Linked DNA regions of Homo sapiens: region 2 is linked to region 1. Evidence: promoter capture Hi-C in 16 types of primary human blood cells and fetal thymus (Javierre and others, 2016). All regions are on one chromosome and are shown on one strand. Each heading gives the region's core, a stretch centred on a gene start or on the middle of the fragment in contact. The rest is flanking DNA. Distances are from core to core; before and after follow the strand shown.

Evidence for each region. Contacts are between HindIII fragments. The CHiCAGO score rates a contact against its expected background, and 5 or more counts as called.
Region 2: a contact is called between a fragment that was not itself captured here and the fragment with the promoter of ATP6V0C in region 1, in 1 of 17 cell types (endothelial precursors). The highest score is 5.6, in endothelial precursors.

What each region holds. Positions count from the first base shown.
Region 1 is chr16:2,510,666-2,516,155 of GRCh38, reverse strand. ATP6V0C (ATPase H+ transporting V0 subunit c) reads right to left here and starts at 2,204. Exons shown (of 3, transcript NM_001694.4): 1 at 1,974-2,204. The coding sequence starts at 2,052. RefSeq lists silencers at 1,449-1,588, 2,009-2,488 and enhancers at 3,394-3,688, 4,479-5,082. The HindIII fragment of the contact is 13,121 bases long and covers 1-5,490 here.
Region 2 is chr16:2,277,993-2,282,803 of GRCh38, reverse strand. It overlaps ABCA3 (ATP binding cassette subfamily A member 3), which reads left to right. Exons shown (of 33, transcript NM_001089.3): 27 at 1,295-1,423; 28 at 1,583-1,777; 29 at 3,674-3,861; 30 at 4,346-4,516; 31 at 4,735-4,811. Among named protein-coding and RNA genes, the nearest start is that of MIR4717, 5.8 kb to the right of the region's middle. The HindIII fragment of the contact is 444 bases long and covers 1,507-1,950 here.

The DNA of each region.
Region 1 (5,490 bases), core at 955-3,454:
GGGAAACAGAGCAAGACCCTGTCTTGAGGAGGGGAGAAAAAAAAAAAAAAAAAAAAAAGCAGTTGTCTGAATTGGCCAAGTGAAGTCAGAGGTCAGCTCCTGGAGAGCCACAGTAAGCCACGTTTATCCCGAAGAGCCAGGGATAAGCAGGAAAGGCCTAGGCCAGCAATACCGTGTTCTCAATTTCCAGACACCTGCTGGTCAGGCTGCCCAAAGACCTGTGTAGGTCTTGACGGAGAGAGAGGAAAGGAGCTGGGTGCAGAAAAAGGGCTTGGTGGACAAACTCAGGGCTTCAAGGGCAAGCAGCAACAGCTAGAATTTAAGTTCCACATGGGCGGGGATCCCATTTTGTTCACTGCTGTCCTACCAGTACCTGGCACATAGTAAGCGCTCAATCAAGATTGTTTGGATGAATGAGTGACAGCCACAAGCTAATACCCCACAGGTGGCCAGGCAAAATGGAATCTCTGAAGGCATTCTGAGGGCAAAGAACAGAGGAGGCTGGGGGGAAGGGCTCGGCAGCCTGTTGGGAGAAGCCTTGAGTCTGTGGAAAGAGCAGGCGGTGCCTAGGGGGAAGGAGAAGTCTAGACCACTTCTTCCACCACAAATGACCCCTTACTTGCACACGACGGGAAGGCCAGGGCTCACTCACGAATGGCAGACAGGCCCAGGCAGAAGGAGGCCCGCAAGAGAACAGAGAGCTCCAAGCCCCCACCCCACAGGTGTTTACAGTCAGCAGAGACTGTTTGGAGTTCAAACCCTCCACATATCTGCACTAGGAGCCTCCCCAGGCCACCAGGCAGGGTGGGGCAGGGCACGGTCATCAAAGCTAAAACCAGACCTAACCACGGAGGCGGAAATCAGACCAGGCCAGGCCAGTCCACGGAGGCTGAGACTGGGCCAGAACTTAACTCGTCGGACCCACATTCCTGGGCCTAGCCCTAGCCCAAGTGCCATTCTCCCAGGGAGACCAATTGTCACTAAATTGGACGCCCAGGACCTGTCAAGGCCCAATTTCAAAAGCAGGGTGCCACCAAGAACCCTAGAAGGCCCCTTCTCCAAGCCCAGGGAAGCCCCTCCCAACTTCAGGCCTCAGGGAGGGAAAGGAAGGTCATTCATTCACCCCTCCATTCATTAGGACCACAACTGGAAGCCTCAGTCCTGAGGGCAACGACTGGATCCCATAAACTCGGACACCCATGCCACCCTCTCACCCACCTCAGAGCACAGACCCTCTGCAAGCTACACAGCCCCGCCAGCGCCGATGCTGCTGTCTCCCCGCTCCCTCCACTTCCACACACTCCCACCCGGGTCTCCGCGGGCTCTCCGAACCAAGCCCTCAGCCCAGCTTTCCCAAACAGCCCACACAGCGACACGGGTATTGGGCAACTGTAACCAGCTCCAACCGGAAGTACCTGCCTGTGGGTGAGACCCACCTGACCCTCGGGGCCGGCCGCCATAAGGGCGAGGGCTGAGGACCTCCCGTGGGGGACATGGGCTCCCCACCAGCCGGAAAGCTCCAGCGACCGGCTGGGCGTTCCTGGGCCGGACCCGCGCCGCCGCCCGCGCACTGGGGCCTTCGAGGTGTGATGTCACCTGCCCGCAGAATCGGCCCCCCTCGCGCCGCCCCCCTCGCGCCCCCACCCCAGCCTCCCTCTCGCCGCTCCCGGGGCTAATATGGCAGCGGCGCCGCCGCCCCACCCCCGCAACCGCACGACCCGGCTGGCAGGGCCGCCGGCCCGGACCCCCGAGACTCACACCCCGGCCAGGCCCGCACGCCCTGCGCCCCGGACCCCCGGCGGCTCCCCGCAGCCCTCGGGGCGCCGACCCCCGCCCGCTGTCACACGAGGCCCGGGCGCCCCCGACAGCTCGGGATTACGTCAGAGTGACGTCACACACCGGACCCCGGCGAGCTGCGGGCATGAGCAACGCGCGCGCCCCCGCCCCCGAGTCCCTCCCGCCGCCGCGCTCACCGCTGAAGACCATGGCGGCCGAGGCGCCCATGACGGCGAAAAACGAAGCATACTCGGGGCCGCTCTTGGACTCGGACATGTCTGCGGGTGGGGAGGGGGCAAGCTCTGCGGGCCGAGGCGGTGGCGGAGGCGGGGGCGAGGACGGGCCGGGCACGAAGGTTTGCGGGCGGGCGGCGGCGAAGGCGATCCGGCCCGTCAGCCGCTGCGCTCTAAATACCAGCACCGCAGAACAAAATGGCGGCCGCGGCCGCGTCACATGACCTGGGCCCCGCCCCTGCGAGCCGTACCACTTCGCACCGTGGGGGAGACGCGTCCCCGGGACGCCCGGCCGGCCCGTTGACCTCCCCCGGGCTGTGCCGCCCGCCCAGCGACCCGGCCCCGGCGCCCGGCCCCGCCCTGCCTCGGCCTCCGCGGGTGTTTCCGGGCGCCGCCGGCCTCTGGATCTCCGCAGCGTTGGACCGGTCTCGCGCCGGGGCGGGGCGGTGTGGTGTGTGCTTCATTAGCATACGGGGCGGGGCCTCGGACGCCCCGCCTCCTCTGCGGCTGCGCGTCGTCTGCAGGTGTTGGGTTCCCGGCGACGCTTTTCTTTGTACCCCTGGCGTGAAGCTGCAGGCCGTGGTTTCGCGGCCTTGCCCCCAAGACGGGGCCTCACCCCTCCGGGCGCTGGTCTTCCAGGATCTCCCTACCAATCCTGGGCGAGCTAAGGGTCCCAGCAGATGTGCGGCGCGCGGGCCTCCTCTGCCACAGCGTCCGGAAAAGCCCCCAGCCCACACCTGTGAAGTCCCAGCCCGTGGCTGCGGTCACCTCCCTCCACCCTGTCCCCAGTCTCCTCCAGACCCAGACCTACTGCCTCTGACCCAGCAGTTGGTGACTTCACCTCTCGCTTCGGAGAAAAAGGACCCCCTCCCCGCACCTGTCTCTGCCTTTGCATCAGGGACCCAAACATTAGTGGGGTGTGTCTCTGCCCCTCAAGATGTAGGCATGACTGGTGGAAGCCCTGTCGGAACTGCGACCTCTGGAGGCCCCCCGGGCTCTGCACGTTCTGGCGTCCTGGTCCTCCCACCTGTCCTTGCAGCCACCCACTCACGCAAAGCCTGCACCTTCAGGGCCATCTTTCTGTCTTTCTGGAGCAGTTGGAGCGGTTCCCGCAGCCGTGAAAGCAGCCCAGCCAGGGCTGGCGCTGCCCTACTGATCCTGTGTGGCAGTCCCTGGCACCCCCTCTGCCTGATCTCCATTCCCCCTTTCAGGGGCCCTGGGCAGCTGCCACCAGGCCTGAGTGTCCTTTGAGCTCTAAGGCCTCATCCTGGGTTAGAGCTCTCCCTGAGTAGCCTGGATGCTGGCTCATCACCTTCTCTATGTAGGCAATGGGGTCATGGCCCCTGGTCTGGCCCTCCTGCTGGACTCAGCCCCACCTTCCCCAGCAGGAGCCTCCCTCAAGCCCCTTCCCCAGGCTAGCCTGGGTCTGCCACTCTTGGAACTTGCAGCCCGTGAAAGTCCCTAAGTCTGTCCTGGTTCAAAGGAGAGGAGGCAACAGATACGGCCAGAGGCCCTTTCTGCTCCTCCCTCTTTCTTGCCCGGCCCTTGTTTCTGAGAAGACGAATCTTCACTCTGTCTCCACCTCCTCACCTGCCCTTCCCTCTCCAGCTCCTTGCCCTTGCCAAGGTCACTGGTGACCGCCATTTCTCTAAGCAGAAGGACATCTGTCAGGCTGTCCAAGTGGACCTCTGTGCTGCGTGGCCTGCCACCCTCTCCACACACTCTCCTCTCTCCTGCGGACTTCCTAAATCTCAGACGCCCTCATTCTTCCTGGAGTCACAAGGCCCTGTAGCCCCAATTTTGCTGCAGGTCCTGGCATACCCAGGGCTACCCCTAGCTCTGCCCTTCCCCTGCTTGATCCCATCCTTTCCCTGGCTTTGTCCCCCATCTTACGCCGTCTTGTCCCTCACCTGCACCATTCCAGCCCCGACCGCCCTCTGAGTGAGAGCAACACCAGTGCCTGCCCCCATAACTCCAAGCCCTCCAGGAAAGCCTAGGCCAGGAAGGCTGTGCCTGGGGCCGAATTCAGACCAAGGAAAGGTGGCGCAGAGCAGCCCACCATGGAGAAACAGCACAGTCCAAGCTCAGGGGTGGGCTGGGCACGGTGGCTCCCGCCTGTAATCCCAGCACTGTGGGAGGCCGAGGCAGGAGGATTGCTTGATCCCAGGAGTTTAAGACCAGCCTGGGCAACAAAGTGAGACCTCGTCTCAAACAAAACATTGTAGGGTGGGCAAAGAGCACCTAACTCCATTGTGGCTGAAACACCAGGACTGGGGACATGGGGACGTGGAGAGACTTCCCTCTTGCAGGAGCAGGGAGTGGGTCAGCTGTGCTCACTGGCCTCTTACCCATTCATTTTCTGCCTAAGTTCTAGTGTGAGAGGTCACACCGGGTCTCCAGTGTGGCTCCTGACACTTCAAGCTGGCGTGTCTGAAGCTGAGCTCGCCCCCACCCCTTCACCACCACCTTCCACTGGGCTATTTCCATTCCCGCAGAAGGCACGCCCATCCCCCCGCAGCCTGACGTCACGCCACTGCTCCCTCCCCACTCTGTATTACTCAGGATCCCGAGATCCTGCCTCCCCAGCTTGTGTCCGCGCCCGCGCCCCTGCCCCTGCCGCTGCCTGGCCTAGGTCTTCTCATCGCCTACCCCCAATCAACCGAGTCTTCACCTTAAAGCCACAGGTTCTTTCCAAAGGGCACTTTCCATCCTGGAATCCTTCGGCCCCTCAAGAGCCCTCCCTGGTCCCCTCCCGCTTCTCATCACCAGCCCCCCAACGTGTCTGCATCACCTGTGTCTGCACCAACTCTCTTCCTCACTCCCTACTTAAGAAATGCACCTCAGTTGGCGGGGTGCCTATAATCCCAACATTTTGGGAGGCCGAGGCGGGTGGATCACGAGTCAGGAGATGGAGACCTCCTGGCTAACACAGTTAAACCCTGTCTCTACTAAAAATACAAAAAATTAGCTGGGCGTGGTGGCACACACCTGTAATCCCAGCTACTGCAGAGGCTGAGGCAGGAGAATCGCTTGAACCCGGGAGGCGGAGGTTGCAGTGAGCTGAGACAGCCTCACTGCATTCCAGCCTGGGCGACAGAGTGAGACTCTGTCTCAAAAAAAAAAAAAAAGAAATGGGTCTCAGTATTTAGAACACCACCTCCTCCAGGAAGCCCCCACTTTCCTTCCCCTCCTTCTTCCTCCTCAGACACCCCCTTCAGGCCTCTCTGGATGCTCCCCTCACACTCTGTGATTTTTTTTTTTTTTTTTTTGAGATGGCGTCTCACTCTGTCACCCAGGCTGGAGTGCAGTGGCGCGATCTTGGCTCACTGCAACCTCCACCTCCCGGGTTCAAGCGATTCTCCTGCCTCAGCCTCTGGAGTAGCTGGGACTACAGGCGCCGGCCACCACGCCCGGCTAATTTTTTGTATTTTTAGTAGAGATGGGGTTTCACCGTGTTAGCCGGGATGGTCTCGATCTTCTG
Region 2 (4,811 bases), core at 479-2,978, 230 kb after region 1:
GGGTTGCCCAGTCCTGCTGAGCAGAGGTGGTGCCCAGGGACACCCAGTGCCCGGAGGAGGGGATGTGGGGCTGAGGGGTGCCCAGTCCTGCTGAGCAGAGGTGGTGCCCAGGGACACCCAGTGCCCGGAGGAGGGGATGTGGGGCTGAGGGGTGCCCAGTCCTGCTGAGCAGAGGTGGTGCCCAGGGACACCCAGTGCCCGGAGGAGGGGATGTGGGGCTGAGGGGTGCTCCACGTGTTTATTGAAAACGTTCATTTTCTCAGGTCTCCATCCCCTCCCTCAAACAAACAAAAGCAAATGTGTTGACATTGCATTGCACATACAGCTTAGCCGAGGGGGAATTCACTTCTTTAAAATAGTCAGACTTCTCTAAAAAGGGAACTGTCTCCACGTGTTAAAATCTTTGGCCAGGCATGGTGGCTCACACCTGTAATCCCAGCACTTTAGAAAGCAGAGGTAGGTGGATCACCTGAAGCCAGGAGTTCAAGACTAGTCTGGGCAACATAGTGAGACCCTATCTCTTCTAAACAGTTTTAAAAATTAGCTAGGCATGATGGCACACACCTGTAATCCTAGCTACTAGGGAAGCTGAGACAGGAGGCTTAAGCCTGGGAGGTCCGGGCTGCAGTGACCTATGATTACACCATTGCATCCCAGCCTGGGTGACAGAGCAAGACCCCATCTCTAAATCTGAAAACAAAAATCTTACTTTCAGGCCAGCCATGGTGGCTAATGCCTGTAATCCCAACACTTTGGGAGGCCAAGGTGGACGGATCACCAAAGGTCAGGAGTTCTAGACCAGCCTGGCCAACACAGTGAAACTCCGTCTCTACTAAAAATACAAAAATTAGCTGGGCGTGGTGGCGCGCTACTCGGGAGGCTGAAGCAGGAGAATCAGTTGAACCTGGGAGGCAGAGTTTGCAGTGAGCTGAGATTGCGCCACTGCACTCCAGCCTGGACAACAGAGTGAGACTCTGTCTCAAAAAAAAAAAAAAAATTGTCTAAAAATCTTATTTTATATTCCCCAGCAGATTTATGATTTTTCTCCATGAGTCCCGCACAGTTCTTTTTCCTCAGATAGTTTATGTCTCCTGGATGCTAGTTTAGCCCCGTAAGACCACTGTGTCTTCTAGTAAAAGGTCTGAGTCGCACCTGTGGGGCCTGAGATTGGGACGAGAAGCCTTGAAGGCCTTAGTCCCACCAGACCTCCCACATCCACCCCCGCCCCTCCCTTCTCCACGGAAGCCGCCCTGCGGCTGGGTTCACGCATGCGGTCTTTGTCCTGGTCAATCAGACAGAATTATACACCCGGATGCCTGTGCTTCCTGAGGACCAAGATGTAGCGGACGAGAGGACCCGCATCCTGGCCCCCAGTCCGGACTCCCTGCTCCACACACCTCTGATTATCAAGGAGCTCTCCAAGGTACCCTTGCAATTTGGGGTGGAGTCCTTCCTGCCAGCTGACTACCTGGCTGTCCCCAGGGTCCGACCCCATCCCTGGAAGCTTTCGGCGCTGAGGCTCAGACTGCTCTGCTTTGCGTCCAGGCCTCCGCATTCCGTGTTTTCTGTTGGGTGCCTGCAGGTGTACGAGCAGCGGGTGCCCCTCCTGGCCGTGGACAGGCTCTCCCTCGCGGTGCAGAAAGGGGAGTGCTTCGGCCTGCTGGGCTTCAATGGAGCCGGGAAGACCACGACTTTCAAAATGCTGACCGGGGAGGAGAGCCTCACTTCTGGGGATGCCTTTGTCGGGGGTCACAGAATCAGCTCTGATGTCGGAAAGGTGGGTGCAGCCAGGGAGGCTCTGAAGGGGTGAGACAGGCATGGCTGGAGGGGGCACCCTGGAGGCAGGGACAGAGGGATGCTGTCCCCAAACAGCTGCTGCATCTGTGGCTTGAAATGGGCCCAGCACATGCCTCTGGACAGCGAGACAAGGTAATGAGCTAAAGCTAAGCTTCGCCAGAACTAGCAGGTGATGGGAGGGGAGAGAGATGGGTGCCAACATCCGTGAGCCCAGAGAGGCGCATTCAGCACTGACAGCCACCTCTGTGCAGAGGCCATTCTGTGTCCAGGCAGCTCAGGTGTGGGGTTAGAGGCCTTGCTGAGTGAAGGGATGGAAGGCCCTGGGCCCGCCCAGCTTTCCCATGTTGAGCTGAGCCCCACCAGCTCCCCCGCAGAAGGACCAGAGGCAGCCCTCCTGCACCTCTGCCCGGGGCCTGCATGGGAATTCAAGTGTGCCAAGCAGAGCAGGGGAAATGGTAAGCAGGGCCTGGGGCTGAGAAGTGGCCGCGGAGTCCTCTCCTGAGCTCACACCAGGGGTGCCTGGACAGCAGAGGCCCTGGGCCAGAGCACATGCAGGCCCTCTCGGGAGGAAAGCCTCATCCTAGGCTGCAGACTCCCCCATAGAGGGTTCCAGGGCTTACAGGCAATGCACAGCAAACAAACAGAGGAGATGGTACCATGGCTGGAAGCAATAGACACAGGCCCCATGGGGGGACAAGCACATAGGCGTTAGATCTGCATCATCAGGCCAGATTATAAAAGATTATAAACTCACTGTGTCTACAGAAATAAATTATGCAATTGAAAATCTATGCAGGGGAGAGAAAACCGTATGTGATCTAGCAATGGAGGAGAGGGTGAGAAGTCCCCAGTACATGTAATCTGAGTTCCAGAAGGAAGAGAGAGAGAGAGTGGCAGGGGGTAGTAGCCAAAAAGGTAGTGGCTAAGACTTTCCCCAAACTGATTAAAAACAGATTCTGGGCTGGGAGCGTGGCTCACGCCTATAATCCCAGCTTTGGAAGGCCAAGGCAGGCAGATCACTTGAGGTCTAGAGTTCGAGACCAGCCTGGCCAACATGGCAAAATGCTGTCTCTACCAAAGAAAAATACAAAAATTAGCAGGGCATGGTGGCAGGTGCCTATAATCCTAGCTACTCGGGAGCCTGAGGCATGAGAATCACTTGAGCCTGGGAGGCAGAGGTTGTAGTGAGCCGAGATCATGCCACTGCGCTCTACCAGTGTAAGGGAGACAGAGTAAGACTCTGTCTCAAAAAAAAAAAAAAAAATTCTGGAAGCTTGAGAACCCCAAAGAAGGAAGGTAAAGAAAAAGAAATCCAGTCTCTGGAATCCACAGAACCCAGGCACTCCTGCCCCCGACCAGCTGCTGAAGGTAGCTAAGCAGATGGCAGCAGGCACGTCTTAATTCAGCTGGACGTGGTCACTTGTGCAGAGAACAGCTGCTGCACCATCTGACCAAGCAGTACTCACCCCAAACGTGGTGCCCACAAATCTTTCTTCTTAGAGGGAGAAGAAAGAGTCCTAGCACATCAGATGTCCCAGGTGTGAATGAGTGGGTAGCCAGCTCTGAGTCTGCTTCTACGTAAAGGCCATTCTTGCACCACCTAACCCCATGGCTGCCTGTCCTGGACCAGGCTCTGAGAGCAGCTCTGGAAGCCTCCCTGCACCAGGCACATCCTTCCTGTGTCCCTGTTCCAAGAGCTTCCACTGTGGGCAGCCACCACGGCCTGTGCATAGCTCCAGCGCCCCCGTGTACACACACTGGCAGGAACCACAGACAGGCGCAGTGGTGGGCACCTCAAGGGTAGTCCCCGTGGTCCTCTGGAGGAAGGAGGCTTCCCTCCAACCCGCCTCCCTCCCCGGCTATGCTCCGACCCCAGGTGCGGCAGCGGATCGGCTACTGCCCGCAGTTTGATGCCTTGCTGGACCACATGACAGGCCGGGAGATGCTGGTCATGTACGCTCGGCTCCGGGGCATCCCTGAGCGCCACATCGGGGCCTGCGTGGAGAACACTCTGCGGGGCCTGCTGCTGGAGCCACATGCCAACAAGCTGGTCAGGACGTACAGGTGCACCTCCCGAGCCCTGGCCCTTCCCAGAGTGGAGTCAGAATCAAGGTCCCCATAGCATAGAGCTGGGAGTGACCGCTCAGGTCAGCAGCCAGAGCTCCTGCTTGTGGCTCCAGGATGGAGCTGGGATGTGGTGGTGTGACCCAGGTAGCTCCACGTAGGAAAGGGACTGCCCTGACAGTGCCTGCCACCTAGGGACAAAGCCAGCAGTGAGAGATGTCAGGGTCGGCAGGTCCCCTTTAGGTGCAGGCAGATGTCTTCCCATGTAGGTGCGTGCACCGGGCCCCTGGGAACAGCCTTCTCTGGGGCCTCCAGCCCTATGCGGTGGGCTTTCCAGGTGCACACACAGCTCCTTCCTCTTCACTAGGGCTGTTCTGCAATTGCTGGGTGTGGGCCGCTGCTGGGACACGGGCCTCCACTGGGACATGGGAGCCAATGCTAACTCTCAGCCTTATTCCCCCACCTGGCACCCTCCTGCCTCTAGTGGTGGTAACAAGCGGAAGCTGAGCACCGGCATCGCCCTGATCGGAGAGCCTGCTGTCATCTTCCTGGACGAGCCGTCCACTGGCATGGACCCCGTGGCCCGGCGCCTGCTTTGGGACACCGTGGCACGAGCCCGAGAGTCTGGCAAGGCCATCATCATCACCTCCCACAGGTAGAGCCTGGGTCTGTGGGTTACTGGAAGTTTCAGCACCGGGTGGGCCATGGAGGAGCCAGGTGGCCAGGAGACCCATCAGCATCTGGTGCAGAGTCTGCCCGTGAGCCACACTGAGCATGGGTATCAGGAACAGCCTGATCGGAGAGCCAATGCCTTCCTGTCTGCACAAGCCTTTGGCACCCCAAGCCCTATCTGAGGTCCCGCCCTCTCCACAGCATGGAGGAGTGTGAGGCCCTGTGCACCCGGCTGGCCATCATGGTGCAGGGGCAGTTCAAGTGCCTGGGCAGCCCCC